Linked DNA regions of Homo sapiens: region 2 is linked to region 1. Evidence: promoter capture Hi-C in 16 types of primary human blood cells and fetal thymus (Javierre and others, 2016). All regions are on one chromosome and are shown on one strand. Each heading gives the region's core, a stretch centred on a gene start or on the middle of the fragment in contact. The rest is flanking DNA. Distances are from core to core; before and after follow the strand shown.

Region 1 (7,459 bases), core at 2,443-4,942:
TGCTTTTAGATTCTACTTCTCAGCTAATGACAAAACAAGATGAAAAGGATGGAAAAAAAAATACCTGCCCCATATCCCTACTCACATTTTTTTTCCTTCAGGACAGACAAGAGTGAATATAGGTAAACCAAACCCTATTGAGAGTCTACCTGTTATCTACGTGTTTAGGGAATGAGGAAAAGAGATACAAGATGCGATGGAGGCTTAAATTATCCAAATCATTAACTGTAAGTTATTTCTTAAACTGCAGCCCTTGGATCAGCTGCATTAGAATCCCATGGGGGAGCTGGTTAAAATGCATATTCCTGGGCCCTCATTCCAGACTTGCAAAATCAGAATTTCTAGGGGTAGATACAAAGAGTCTGTATTTACCGGACTCTCCAGATGAGTGATATGGATGCTCATTAAAGTGGGAGAGCCTCTGCCAGGAGTGGAGCAGAAGAAGGTACCTCTCTTAGGATCTTTGCTAAAACCTGAGTGTTAAGATGTTTATGCTAACTCTACCTTGCCTGTCCCATTCACCCTCCTCCTCCCTTTCTGAAGGGAGAATCTTCAGGGCACTTACCTGGTCTGATGGGGCTCTGCATACAGTTCGGAGATGGGATGCCAGGGTGAAGGGGTGCAGAGGCCCGGCTGCTGAGGTCCATGACCGAGGGGGCAGCCGAGGAAGCTGGCTGCAGCCCAGGAGGGTGAGGGCTGTGGTCATGCTGAGATGGGCTGGGGGGAATGCCATTTTCTGACAAAAACTCCTCCAGGTCCATGTATTCCAACTGGAAAGTATCTCCGTCATAGGGAAGGGTTTTGTCCCATAAGGTAGGCCCCAGGAATGCCGACTGGGGGACCGTCGGGCTGTTACTCTCATCATCCAGCTTCTTTTCCTTGTCTTTATCTTTACTAAATGCTGCAGAAGAAGGGAAAGCTGGACTTAAAAAAAAAGAAAGAAAAGAAAAACAATACCGCTCTTTTATCACTTTTCCTGGCCTGTTATAAGACTATTTCTCACGAATGGCAGGGTCCTTCTCTGGCTGCTGTCTTTTGTAGATCTAGAGTTAAAAGTTCAGGCAGGACGTGGATCTCTGCCTGTTTTTCAACATCTTCCTATTTACTTTGGAAAGAAGGCACTAGTCCTTGGGGCAGGGCTACAGGCTGATCTAGGATAAAAACCAGAGAACAGTCTCAGCACATTATTTGAGAAGAGTAATAACTTAAACCTAAAATAGGAATATAACATCTGTGATTATATACAACTGCTGTCATTTTTAAGAAAACAACAGCCAATAACCAGGCTTGAATTATCTTCCAGGAATTCATCACAGCAGCAATAGGAGGTCATTCAGACTTACAAAGCCAGTGAGTTAGTGGTCTTAATTTTGGTAAAGCAGGGACCTTCCACCCTTCTTTAACATCATGTTTAGAGTACCTACTGGATACCTGGTTCTTTCCATATATTATCTCAAAAATCTCACAATAAACTTGCAAAATAACAATTACCTCCATTTACAACAAAGACTCGGAGGCTCTGAGACTTGAGGGAACTTGACCAATGCCTCATGTTGGCAGAGAATGAGAACTTTCTGAGCTCACATGTGTTTGCTTCTAAAGCCACTGGGGCACACTGATTTTTACAAAAGGAGTTTAAAAAAATACAAAGTGTTTTCTTCCTTCTCTTCTCCAAACATTTGAGTATGATCCAATTTACAAAGAGTATGCATTTACAAAACCTTTCAAAAGCAGAGCTATTGGAAAAGGTGAGTTATTCTATACATTTATGTTGGAAGTATGCAGCTATTTGCTACCTGGAAGTACTGCTCGCCCATTAGGTCTTTAACAAGCATTCCGGATCTTGCCAATTCTAGTATTCAGTCGTGGGTGGAATCTGGGATTAAGGAATTTGCTTCTGAGTTTCATCTTCAGAGAAACACAGCCTCCACTGCCATCCATTCTAACCCTCTACCATCTCATCTGAAAATCTGACTTAAAACACCCACAGATGCAAAAGCCTGCAGGCAGCCCCTTCCTCCCAAATGCTCTTCCTTAAAGGATAGTTAGGGAGGGGTCCCTGGCTATCATCTGCAGATTGCAAACTCTTGCAATGCAACAGGTTGTCCTCTCCTAGAAAAGAAGGTGCAAGTACTCCCAAGCTATTTGTAGCCAAATAACCTTTCAGAACTTTACACTGTGAGCCGCACGGTTCGCATTTGCTACTGTGATACCGAAGGCATGAAATCGCATCAACCCAAATCCGTGGCATCACTTAGCCGGGTTTGGGGCCTCATCACACGTACCCCTCCTCTACTGCTAAGGCCAAGGTTGTCTTGGGAAGGTTTGGGACTTACCAAGAAAGGGCTCAAGCCAGAGGAGGCTCCTGCGCGGTTACACGTGAGCCTGCTCCGCTCTCCCCTCCCACCAGAAAAAGTGCACCGGGAAAGTGTCAACGCTGGAGGCGTGCACGGCTTCCCGCCGAGAGACCACTCCCCCCACCGGCCCCAGCCCCCACCCCGCTTTCTCAGCTACCCTTCACCAGAAGAAAACGAGTCTTCTCTCACACCTCGTGAGTTCCAAATACTAACCAGTAACAGAAGCTGTAACACAACCCCAAAACCCAGGCTACGCAGTGAAACCCCCTCCCTCAAGCCGACCCCCGCCCCCTGCCCCGCACAGAACCAGGCCCCAGGGTTTCTCCTCCCCAGCCCGGGAGGCTCTGCCCTCCGCAGGCGGGCTCGCTCTGCGTGCGGGTGTGCCTCGTTCTAGGGAACGATCCTGACCTGTCAAGTTACACCTCCCACCCGCGCCGCAGGAGCGGGACCCAGGGAGGCCGGGTGCCCGAAGCTCTTTTAAATGTAGCTCAGGAGGGGTCCCTCCCCTTTCATGGAGGAGGAGGAAGGGGAGGAAGGGTGCTGGGTGAGCTCCTCAATTTCATCAGCGCGGGGCCGGGGCGCCGCGGGACAGGGCGGGAGCGGGGTTGGGGGATGCTCCAGCGGGCGTGCCCGGCCGCGGAGGGGGACCCCCGGAGCGTCGTCCCTTCCCGGAGCGGGGCCGCGGCAGCGCTCACCGTCTTCGTGGTGAAGGGGGAGCTTCAGCGGGTTCTCCAGCAGGGACCTGAGCACGCCGTAGGGAGGCGGGATAAAGGTGGGATTCAGGGGGAGCGGTCGGGACATTTTCTCCATCGCGATGCACTCAAATTTTTTCCCCTTAAAAAAAGAAATAAGAAAGAAACAACCGCCCCCTAAAATGTTGCTGAGCTTTTCCTCCGTCCTTTGCCAAAAGTACTCGCTCTCAAGGCGGTGGAGAAAAGGGAAGAAAAAAATTACTTATATCTTTATAAATACATCTGCATAAAAATATATATTAAAAAAAAACTTTCGGGTTTCCAGTGCAGACGGTCCCAGGAGAGCGCGCCAAGTGCCCGCGGGCTCCCCGGCGACGTGCAGGATGCTCTCACCTGCCTCGAACCCCTCGTTTTGCAAAATGTTCAAAATTGAAAAAAAGAAAGAAAAAAAAATGTCGACGGCTGCAGAAGGGCAGAAGACACCGCGCCGACCCCAGCCCCTAGTGCCAGCACCGGAGGCGGTGCGCCGTCCCACCCCACCCCCCTCCCCGCGCCGGCGGCCGCTGCTCCCCAGCGCTCCGCGGCCCCGCAGCGCCGGGCTCAGCGCATCCGGCCGCCCATGTGCCGCGGCCCTGACAAGAGTGACGTCAGGGCCCGCACCTCGCGCCCATAGGCGTGCGGGGGCGGGGCCACGCGCGGCACCGCCCGCCTGGCCCGCTCGCCCCGCCGCCGCGTGTTTAGCGTCGCCGCTCGCGCCGATTTTCGGGGACCTTGCAGCACTGGCTGGTTGCAGGGGAGCAGGTGCCAGATTCCCTGGGCCATCAACTTAGGCTTAGATTTTTTTTTTTTTTTTTGGTCTGGGTGGGAAGAGGAATGAGAAATTTATATCCATAGTTTTCAAGCTGGGAATAACCTGAGGAGTTTTAAAAAAATCGCGATACCCAGGCCGCATCCCAGATCAATTAGATCAGAACCTCTGCGGTGCTATCAGGGCGTCCATAATTTTTAAAGCTCCCCAGGTGGTTCCAAAGAGTAGCCAAGTTTGAGATGATTGGTTTAGATCGGATGGAAGGTAACGACCCTTCTCAATATTTCTCCTGGCCCCGGCCAAGCTTAGCGTCTTCTTTCTTGCCCAGTTTCCACCACCACCAAAAAATAACTACTTCCTATAAGTCCGAATGGGATGCAAAAAGCAGAGCGGGAAGCGGAGGACTGAGCTGCTGGGCACTGTTTCCCACGCTGCAGAGAGGTGTTAACGGTGGGGGGAGAGGGGGGGTAGACATTTGCCTGAAACGGAAAGAGGCGGGAGAGACACAGACACACTGAACGGGATTTTAGGAATATTTACTCTGGGTGAATACAGGTGATTGCGCTTGGGTCAAGTTATTAGGTTTGCACGGTGATTAAAATAATTTTGTAAAGTATCCCCTAAGGGGGCTTCGGCTTTCCTTGCTGTTACAGCAGCTGCAGCGTCTCCCTCTGCCAGTTTGACCTCGTGGCACCCACGGTCCCCGAGATCTGCGTGCGACCCCCTGTGTGATAACTCCCTTCCCGCCTGGGGTGGTGCGGGCGCTGGCGTGCAGCCGCGACGCCCCCTGCAGAGCTCCGCGGGGGGCCAGGCAGGTTCTTCCCCTCCCTCCTTACCTCTCCTTACTAAGACCCTAGTCTTCGATCTGGGGAAGGGGCTGCAAGAACGAATGGGCACAAATGAAAGAAAACCGTTTTTCAGTGGGACGTAAAGGCCTTTGTGACCCCAGGCTGAGTCGCTGGGGAAGGATGTGGTGGTGTCTTGATGGGGTTTACTTCCCCAGGAGAGGGTTGTAAGAGAGGAGGCGCCTGAAACCCCAGAGATCAGGAGCGGCGGCGCAGCGGGGTTCAGAGTTCCCTGGCAGGGTGATTCCGGCAAGTGCCTTTCTGCCCTGAGCTGTAGGTTCTTCATAAAAGGACACGTAATCTAGTGACCTCTACTTCCTCACTCTAAAATTATGGCAAAAGGGTAAGGCAACATTCTAAGTGAGATGTTGTTGCAGTGTTTCAGGTTTCAGACGAATTCCAGAAACAGCAAACTTTTAGTTAATGCCACATGCATTTATTGAGCACCACGGTATGTATGCCAGCGACTATGCGGGGGCTAGTGAAAAAAGATGAATAAAACATAATTTTAACCTTCAAGAACTCATCGTTTAGGGTTTGGCATATAAGCAAATAATATAAAATAGGCTTAAAAGAACAAAAATGGATAGATGGAGGTGACAGGGGCACTTACATTATTAGGAAAGGGATTCTAGAGAAGGTGCCTGAGCTGGGCGTGGAGGTAATAGTCTCTCGTGAACGGTCTGAATCCATCAATTATATTATATTGTTTTTTTAAAAAATAAAAAAGGGACCTCATCTCCGCTATCCTTTTGGAGACAGAGGCTATTTCCCTGTCTTGAGTTCCTTACATCCCTGTAAGTCCATAAACTGGCAGGACTGAGAGCATCCTCTCAGCCTGGTTAGAAATCTGTTAGATTGCAGATTCCAGGTGCATGAAAGATGCGTTACCTAAGCTTTGTGTAACAGTCCACTGACATTACTCAGCACGCCCAAAGTGCTCCACCTGCTCATGATTCTCCGCATGTCCTCACTTCCCCATGTTTCCAGACATGAAACTCTTACCAGGTCAAGTAATCTGGTTTCCCAGGGTAATCTTCTCCTTACCACCTGACAGAACCAAATACTGTGGCTTGGAAATTGCATTTCTCATTGCAAGTGGATAAACTGGCGTTCTGGTTGATCAAGCAGTTTCTTGGGAATTTGGTTCATTTAATTTAATTTCCCTGAGCCTGATCAACATGTCACGGACCAGATTGAGGACCAGCCCCTTAGACCATGGTGACTCCCTCTCACTTCTCTCCATCCTTCTCTAACTTCAAAGGTATTTCTTAGAGCCTCAAAAATTATAAGCATTGGCTAATCTTCAATCTAGCCCCATTCCTTAACAAGATAAATGAAATTGGTACATCTTTTCTACTCTGGCCATTTGTAAATGTTATTTTCTTTTATTTTTTTAACAAACCATGAACATCTTTCTTTCTCTTTCTCTCTCTCTCTTCCCCAGAAGCAGTTGTGGATGGCTGCTCAAGAGGAAGGAGAGGGATAGAAGAAACCAAAGGTTATATTGGTTGGGTAGTAAGACCCTCTGAATTCCACAGGTTAATTCTCAAATGGACATATCCCTAATGAGCACTAACCCCAATCTGCACATATGCCCAGAGATAACTGCCGCTCACAAGTGCTTAGCACTTGTCCACTTACAGAGCCCTTCCATATGTGTCATATCACATACTTCTGACAATTCCATGAGGAAAGCAATGATGCTGATTATTGATTGCTGTGTAACAGATCACTCCAAAACCTAGTGGCTTAAAACAACAATCATTTTATTATTTCTCATTATTCTGCAATCTAGGTTAGGCTCAGCTGGGATACTGGGCTGGCTGGCCTTCTCTTTCTCTTTACATGGCCTCCTTACACCATAGATTCATTTTGCTTGTTTTATAATTTCATACAAGTGAAATCATACTGTATATACTCTCTTGTGTGTAGCTTCTTTCACTCTGCACAGTATTTTAGACATTCACCAATGTTGCATATAGTTCATTTCTTTATATTAGTGAGTAGTATTCCGCTCTATGAATATACAAAAGTTTATCTGTTGTATTGGTGGACATTTGGGTTGTTTCCAGTTTTTAGGCATGAATAAAATGTTTATGAGAATTCTTGTCTGAGTTCTTTTGTGAACACATGCTTTCCTTTCTCTTGGATAAACAAATAGGAGTAGGATTACTGGATCATAGAAAAGATGTGTGTTTTACTTTAGAAGAAGCTCTTCTATAGTCTTCTGAAGCAGGTAAATTGTCCTGCATTTCCAGCAGCAGTATATGAGAGTTCTGGTTGTTCTAGCGCCTCACCAATATTTAGTGGTGTCAGTTTCTCTTAAAACTTGTAGCCATTCTAGTGGGTGGATAGTCAGTTCTCAATGGACCTTTCATCTGAATTTTCCTGATGAAAAATGATGGCATGTGCTACTTCATGTGCTTCTTAGTAGCTTGTACATCTTCCTGTTCAAGTCTCTTGCCCATTTTTGAATTTGGTTATCTTTTGATTACTGAATTTTAGGAGTTCTTTTATATACTTTGGATAGTCTCTTTGTCAGATGTTTGTGTGTTGTGAATATTTTCTTCCAATCTGTGGCTTGCTGATTAGTTTTTATAATAACGTCTTTCCATGAGCAGTTTTTAATTTTGACAAAGTTCAATTTATCAATTTGTTTTTCATGATTATTGCTTGCTATGAACTAGGAAACTTTTGACTACTCCTGAGTTCTGGAGATATTCTCCTATACTTTCCTTTATAACTTTCATAGTT
Region 2 (7,459 bases), core at 3,216-5,715, 110 kb after region 1:
GAGCTAAAACATGTCAGGTACAAAGCCAATATAATTAATTTTTCAAAGAAGGAAACAACTCTGTAGTGACAGAGTACAGCCCTGGGTAACTCTTAAAAATTGATGCTGTTTTTCATCATAATAGGACAAACAAAACAGAAAAAAACAAAGAACATGTCCTACTGACACTGATACCTATACACTGAATTATCAGATACTAATAAACAATTATATAGGATTGTATAGTTGGTATATTTGTACTTTTTCATATACCTGTTGGCAGTGTCCACCAAAAATTTATGTTCTCCATTCCATACCATAGAGTTGCTGCCAGGTGGCAGCTGCCTAGGCAGAGACTACATTTCCCAGCTCTCCTCATATCTTTATGTGAGCATGTGATTAGTTCCTGTCAATAGAAGGTAACAGAATTGATGTTTATCTTTTGTGGGTCAGGGTTTTTAAGAAGCTGGAGTGCCTTCTCTACTCTCACTCATTATCCGCCAACCGAATGTAGAGGACTCTGAGGCCATTAGGGAGGGCAGAGACATGAGATGGGAGGAGCCTGGGTCTCAACATCACTACCTGAAGAAAAGCTACACCCATCAACCAGGAATCCCTGCATTGATTTGTGAGCATGAAGTCACTGAAAGCAGATGATTTGTTATTTCAGATAGCGTCACTCTAGATCACTGTCAAGCAAGACGAGAATATTTCAAGAGGAAGCCATGACTACTACTTTCTCAATAAATATATGAACAACTTCTATAAACTAAAAGCCTATCTTTCTAAAATACAGAAAATAAGTAATAGCTATATATTTTTATGCTACTTTAAATATCAATAATCAAGACTGTCAGAATACAGATTAACGAATACTAAATTTAACTGGAAACAAGTTCATAAGACCACTGTCAACGTTTCCACGTTAAATTCCCCCTGCGAGTAGAAGTGCATAAAATGTAGAAGCTACTTTAATTTTTAGTGTTCTTATTAAAATAGAATTGTATTACAAGCCATACAGGTGTTCACTTAATTTAATCAACAAAAGAAGTTTAATAAACATCTGACTAAACATTCTTCTTAATTAACAAATTTAAAACCTTAAAAAACTAAAATTTAAAACATATTTTTCAACTAATTTATATGATTCTAATGTTATGTTTATCTATCAGAGTTAAAATGACTACACTACAAATTTTAAATATAAGCATATATATTATACTACAGAATGATTTGTAAAAATCACAAAGTTGGAAGGGACTTTGAGAGGCTCCTTATGAGACCATCTCTAATGTCTTGAAGTATTTTGTCAGTATTATTGATTCCGTCATGTATAAATGCTAAAGCCACTTGACAGTGAGTGTTACAAAGAAAAGCCTTCAATTATGGTGAAAATTATGGGATAAAAACATGCCATCAACCTCTACAGTTTTCTCATGAACTTTTAAATACTGATTGTTTCTAATAGTGCCAACTTAGACTTGTGACTAAATGGAATTAACTGTCTTTTAGGACCTTAGTATAAATTAAAGGCAAGAAAGAATTATATTCTTATTTTCTGTATGAGGAACCTGATACTAAGAAAGGTGAAATAACTTATTCCAGGTCATGAAACTAGTGCATGTTAGAGCCGGGATCTAGACCCAAATCTGACTTCTGAGAATTTAACCATTATATTAAACTCCTCGCTGAGGCTCTGTTATCTGGGTTGGTGTCAGTAACAATATATAGGGAGGCTCTGGAATGGATTAAGTGACCATCTGAAAGGGGTTCTTCAGCTTTACAAGATAAAATTAATTAAAGATGTATTGACTAGTTCATTGATTATAAATGATATGTCTAAAGCTATTATATATATATTTTAAAGTATTTGCCATATGATATGGTTTGGCTCTGTGTACCCACCCAAATCTCATCTTGAATTGTAATCTCCATGTGTCAAGGGAGGGACCTGTAATCCCCAGTATCAAGGGAGGGAGGTGATTGGATGATGGGGACAGTTTCTTTCATGCTGTTCTTGTGATACTGAGTTCTTACAAGATCAGATGGTTTAATAAGCGTCTGGCATTTCCTCTGGTTGCACTTCTCACTCCTGCTGCCTTGTGAAGAAGGTGCCTGCTTCCCCTTCTGCCATGATTGTAAGTTGCGGGAGGCCTCCCCAGCCACGTGGAACTGTGAGTCAGTTAAAGCTCCTTTGTTTATAAATTACCCAGTCTCAGGTGATATCTTTATAGCAGTGTGAAAACAAACTAACATACCACGAAATGCATAAGAATTGTTATCTGGATGACCATGAATAAAAAGTACTTGTATGAAGCCTGAGTCAGAGGCTTTGTGCCAGCAGTCATATTTTTTACATCATGTAGCAACAAATTCTTCATATATCTATTTTTGTCTAATAGGCTGTTAGTTTCTGGAGGGTAGGGAAGTGTCCTACTCATCTTTATAGCCCCAGTGTCAGGCTCACAGAAAGGGGGGTCCATAAATATTTGATGCATGGATACATTTCACTGATACATTACTATTGTCATATCACTGGGTAAAAATACTCAAAAGTGGTAGACAAGCTTACTTATAATGGAGGATCAGACAAAACAATCTTCCGACTTGGTAATCCAGTGTACTGTCCTAAATTATTGAAAATATGCATAAATAAATTGATCATTATTAAAATAAGATTTAAATAGCTCCAAAGTCACCAAATAACTAACACTACTAGTCCTTCTCACCAATATTCTCATATCCAAGTAACTTCCAAAGGTCTACTCATACATTTGGTTGTATGTAACAGTTGAATCACTGTGATAATTCAGACCATTTTGACTAGTTTATTTTCTATACAGCTGGAGTTATATGTCAACCTACTCAAATCCCAGGTTTTGTTAAAATTATTTACATCAAGCAAATACTATTTTTAGCTAAGCAAATCTTGTTTTAACTATTAGAGTATAAAACTTTACTAAAGACAAATAAATATGATGGTAAGTGGCCTGGCTAACAGCTCACGCTTCCCTTCGGTCCCTAAACCGTAGAAGTGATTTTACCACACTGGAATTTTTAGTCTTTGAAATGATGAGAATGCAGCCAAAGCCATGTTTCTAGGCACCAGATACCCAACAGAGGGATGGAGATTTTCACAGAGGTACCTGCTTAATACCAGTGCTAAGTAACAAAGTGCAGGCATGATCAAAGAAGACCTCTGGCCCTGTTAATATTGAGATCATTCATTTGATACAGATGTTCAGGTATGTGGCAGCTGGGTAAGACTTTACATCAGGAAAGCATTTTGTACTTTACAACATTCTTTGATACCAATTTCCCAATTTGCTTTTCATATAAATCTCACAGACCTTATTTTTCTCTACAGTTTTTACAATTGATGAAACTGAGGCTCAGAGTATCAAAGCCCCATCCAAGGTCACACAGTAGTGGGACCACTACCCTCCCCACTCTACTTCTAACTCCCTGTAATCATTTGCTACTGCAGTAACAAATTTCCACAAATTTAATGGCCTAAAACAACACAAATTTACTATCTTATAGTTGTGTAATTCAGAAGTCCCACACAGGTCTTATTGTTCTGGAGGCTCTAGAGGAGAATTTGTTTCTTTGCTTTTCCAGGCCACTCACATTCCTTGGCTTATGGCTCCCAAATTCAAAGCCAGCAACATAACATATCCTAAATTCTGCTTCCACTGTCATATCTCTTTCTGACTCTCTTTTTCTGCCTCCCTCTTCTACTGTTAAGGAGTCACGTGATTGGACCCATTTGGATAATCCAGAATTAGCTCCCTATTTTAAGGTTAGTTGATTAGCAACCTTAATTCTACCTGCAACTTTAATGCTCCTTTACCATGTGACCTAGTATATTCACACTTACAGGTGCTGGGGAATAAGATGTGAACATTTTTGAGGGCCATTATTCTGCCTACCCTTCTCTTCTTCCCTTAAGCTGCTTCTTCCCCTAAGACTAGGGCCTAATGGAAAATGCACCGATTGGGATCAACTCTTGCAATTTGCCTAAAACTTGCTAAACGTTTAGCATGAAAAATAATACATATATGTATGACACTATAATGAATATAATCTACAGAATGAAGAAAAAAGTTGCTAGGGACCTTATGAAATGTAATTTTTGGGAGAAGCTACTATATGGACTGAACTATGTCCCTCCTAAATTCATATGTTGAATCTCCAAACCCCAGCGTGGCTGTATTTGGAGACTGGATCTCCATGGAGATAATTAGGGTTAGATGAGGTTGTAGGGTTGGCAGGACACTGGTCTGATGGAACTGGTGTCTTTGTAAGAAGAGACACCAGAGATATCTCTCTCTCTGTGTACAAAGAGAAGAGGCCAGATGAGGACACAGCCAGAGGTAGGCATCTAGAAGCCAGGAAGAGAGTCTCACCAGAAACCAACCCTGATGGCGCCCTGATCTTGGGACTTCTGTGAGAAAATAAATTTCTGTTGTTTAAGCCATGTCTGTGGTGGTTTGTTACGGCAGCCCTAGCAGACTAATACAGCAACCAAATTTGGAAGGGAAAGAGTTTGACAAAAAGTATTTGTTAGTAAATCTAAATAAAGGGTCCTGGCAGCAAAGACAATTATACACCTTTCAAATAGAAGTATTAACCCTCAGAAAGGTTACGAGTTTTCAAAGTACTTTATGAAACCCCAAATAATTTATTTTAATATCTCAATGAAATGTGAAAAAACATGCCTCATGCCTGTGTTATACCTGTCATTGGTTAAATGAGGGGGAAAAGGGGCTTTGATGCTGAATATTTAGGTCTGGATGTTCTTTTTATTTTAGTGGGCTTTGCCATTCTGAATAACCCAAGCCAGCTGCCTGGTCTTTCATTTCATGACAATTTCTCACACAGTACTTCATATTCCTACATATCTTTGTAGGTATTTACAGAAAATCCTGAGCAAGCTGTCTCAGGCTCATGATCAATGCAATGTCTCTGCTCCTATCACAGGGCTTTTGACTGGCCAGAGAGTGGCACAGGTGTAGGTTTTGGCTACTGGTTTCCATCTGCAGTTGTGTAAATACTGTCATTTTAAACTCCTCCATTGGCAAATAGCAATAGTATAAAATAAGGAAGGGGAGGGGTAACTAACAGCTGTTAAGCACTCATTATGTGCAAGGTATTTTGCTAGGTGCTTTTTACCCCAAATTTCATTCAATTCTCAAAACAATCTGGGGAGATAGATAGAAATTATTATCCTTGTTTTTGTACAAGAATAGAGGGTAGAGAGTATTGAAATAACTTACCACTACCAAGGTCACACTTAAAAGTGGTTGCATAAACATTAGAAGCTAGCTCTGTCTGATACTAAAGCCCTTATTTTTTTCCCCATCAATTGCTTCCGCAGACTGCCAACAACAATATTCATTCGATAAATATTTATCATCCCTACAAATACCAGGCCCTGTGCTAGGTAATGAATATTCCAAACCAGTTGTCACATGGATGGTTACAGCTTTAAAGTGCAATCTAGTAATTTCAATACCTTACAACTCATTCATAGCTAAGAAGTATTTGGGGGCAAAATATTTAAAAAGGTCCATATTTCATCTTTTAAGTCCTCTGTTGGTTTCTTCATTGTAGCCTCATTAAGAATAAAATGCCCAGAATTCTTATACATGTAAAAGAGAGTGAGGAGCCTACACATATTCTCCTTATCTAGTCTGAAGTTGCATAGAAATTGCCCTGACACCTCATCCAGTGAGCCTTAGATCTTACTAATTTGTCAGTAGACATTTCCTCATTCACAGAAAATGAATCAAAGCCCCCAAATTAATGAGATCTTTAGAAGGAGGGTGTTAGACAGTGTCCACTAAAAGCCAAAATAAGCTAGGTGCTTGCTCACGCCTGTAATCCCAGCACTTTGGGAGGCTGAGGCGGGCAGATCACCTGAGGTCAGGATTTCAAGACCAGTCTAGCCAACATGGCCCCGCCTCTACTAAAAATACAAAAATTAGCCAGGTGTGATGGCTGGTGCCTGTAATCCCAGCTACTCGGGAAGCTGAGGTGGCAGAATCACTTGAACCTGGGAGGTGGAGGTTGCACTGAGCCGAGACTGTGTCACTGCACTCCAGCCTGGGTGACAGAGCGAGACTTCGTCTCAAAAAAAAGAAAAAAAAAAAAAGCTAAAATAATTGTAAAGGATTTAGAAAAAGCTAAAAGTAGTACCCTTTAAATTTCTAATTCAGAAACCATTCCTTCCTTTCCATCTTCCCCTTTCCAATCTCCCTAATTTCTAATTGCATTAGATTTACCTAAGCTAGGCTCTACTTAGCAAATAAAGTTAGGGCCTAAGAAACGATAATTTAAAATTCTTGTCTTTTGTGTTTTCCTTTGTTTATAAATGAGATGACACAATGTAACTGAAGCTTTTAACTAATACAATAGGCAAACAATAAAATTTATTCACTTATAGATTATGAGCCATTCTTCCCTACTTGCAAACAAACTAACTGGCTGTCTTAACCCAAGTATAGACAATCATTTTAGGGCATTAATGAATTCTGACTGGAGAGAAATGAGAGAAACCATGCGTATTAGAACTTAGTTATGCTGTAGAGTCATAAAAACAAAGCTCTCACATACTGAACATCTTGTAAGAAATTTGGGGTAGGGGTGTTCTCATTGTTTATTTTGTTATTCCAACCTAATAGTTGCATCATTACTGTTCATCATGGCAGAGTTCCTGTCATGTGCTAGCAATACACTCTAGAAGAAAAAGATTGCAAAGATGTGGCATGTGTCCTACACACCACTTCTCCCTCTAAACCCATGGCAGACATCTCCAGTTGATCAAGGCATACATCAGTGAAGTTGAATATGTCCTCAGAATTCTTCTCAAAATAATACTTGAGACAGCTATTATCAACAGACAGAGATGGCATGAGTTAAAATCTATTTCCCTTCCCTGTTCTACACAGAAACTTTTGTTTTATTCAAATACATAGACTTTCTAGGTTCTACTGATACGCATTTGTAATGTTCTAAGAATAATACTGCCTATGTGATAAAGAATAGAATTTGTAATACGAGGAACAATATATCAGATTTTAGGATCTGATATAAAGGCATATCAATCCAAATGAATGCATGGAGAATTACAAGCCAAATTTAAGTAACTTAAAAGCAAGTGATTACATGTATTTGAAAAATCACCAACAGTATAATTCAGGGGTCCTCAACCCCCGGGCCATGGACTCGTAGTGGTACATGACCTGTTAGGAGCTCAGCTGCACAGCAGGAGGTGAGTTCCGGGCAAGCGAGTACTACTGCCTGAGCTCTGCCTCTTGTCAGATCAGTGGTGGCATTAGGATTGCAAACCCCATTGTGAACTGCACATGCAAAGGATTGAGGTTGCGTGCTCCTTATGAGAATCTAATGCCTGATGACTGAGGTAGAACAGTTTCATCCTGAAACCGTCCCCCTACCCCCTGGTCCATGAAAAAAT

The links. Contacts are between HindIII fragments. The CHiCAGO score rates a contact against its expected background, and 5 or more counts as called.
Region 2: a fragment that was not itself captured here is called in contact with the fragment with the promoter of HLF in region 1 in 1 of 17 cell types (total CD4 T cells); the score reaches 5.2 in total CD4 T cells.

Annotation. Positions count from the first base shown.
Region 1 is chr17:55,261,193-55,268,651 of GRCh38, reverse strand. HLF (HLF transcription factor, PAR bZIP family member) reads right to left here and starts at 3,692. Exons shown (of 4, transcript NM_002126.5): 1 at 3,053-3,692; 2 at 566-901. The coding sequence starts at 3,167. RefSeq lists a silencer at 3,569-3,888. The HindIII fragment of the contact is 7,530 bases long and covers 1-4,163 here.
Region 2 is chr17:55,147,212-55,154,670 of GRCh38, reverse strand. The region is part of intron 17 of STXBP4 (syntaxin binding protein 4); the gene reads right to left. Among named protein-coding and RNA genes, the nearest start is that of HLF, 110 kb to the left of the region's middle. The HindIII fragment of the contact is 3,834 bases long and covers 2,549-6,382 here.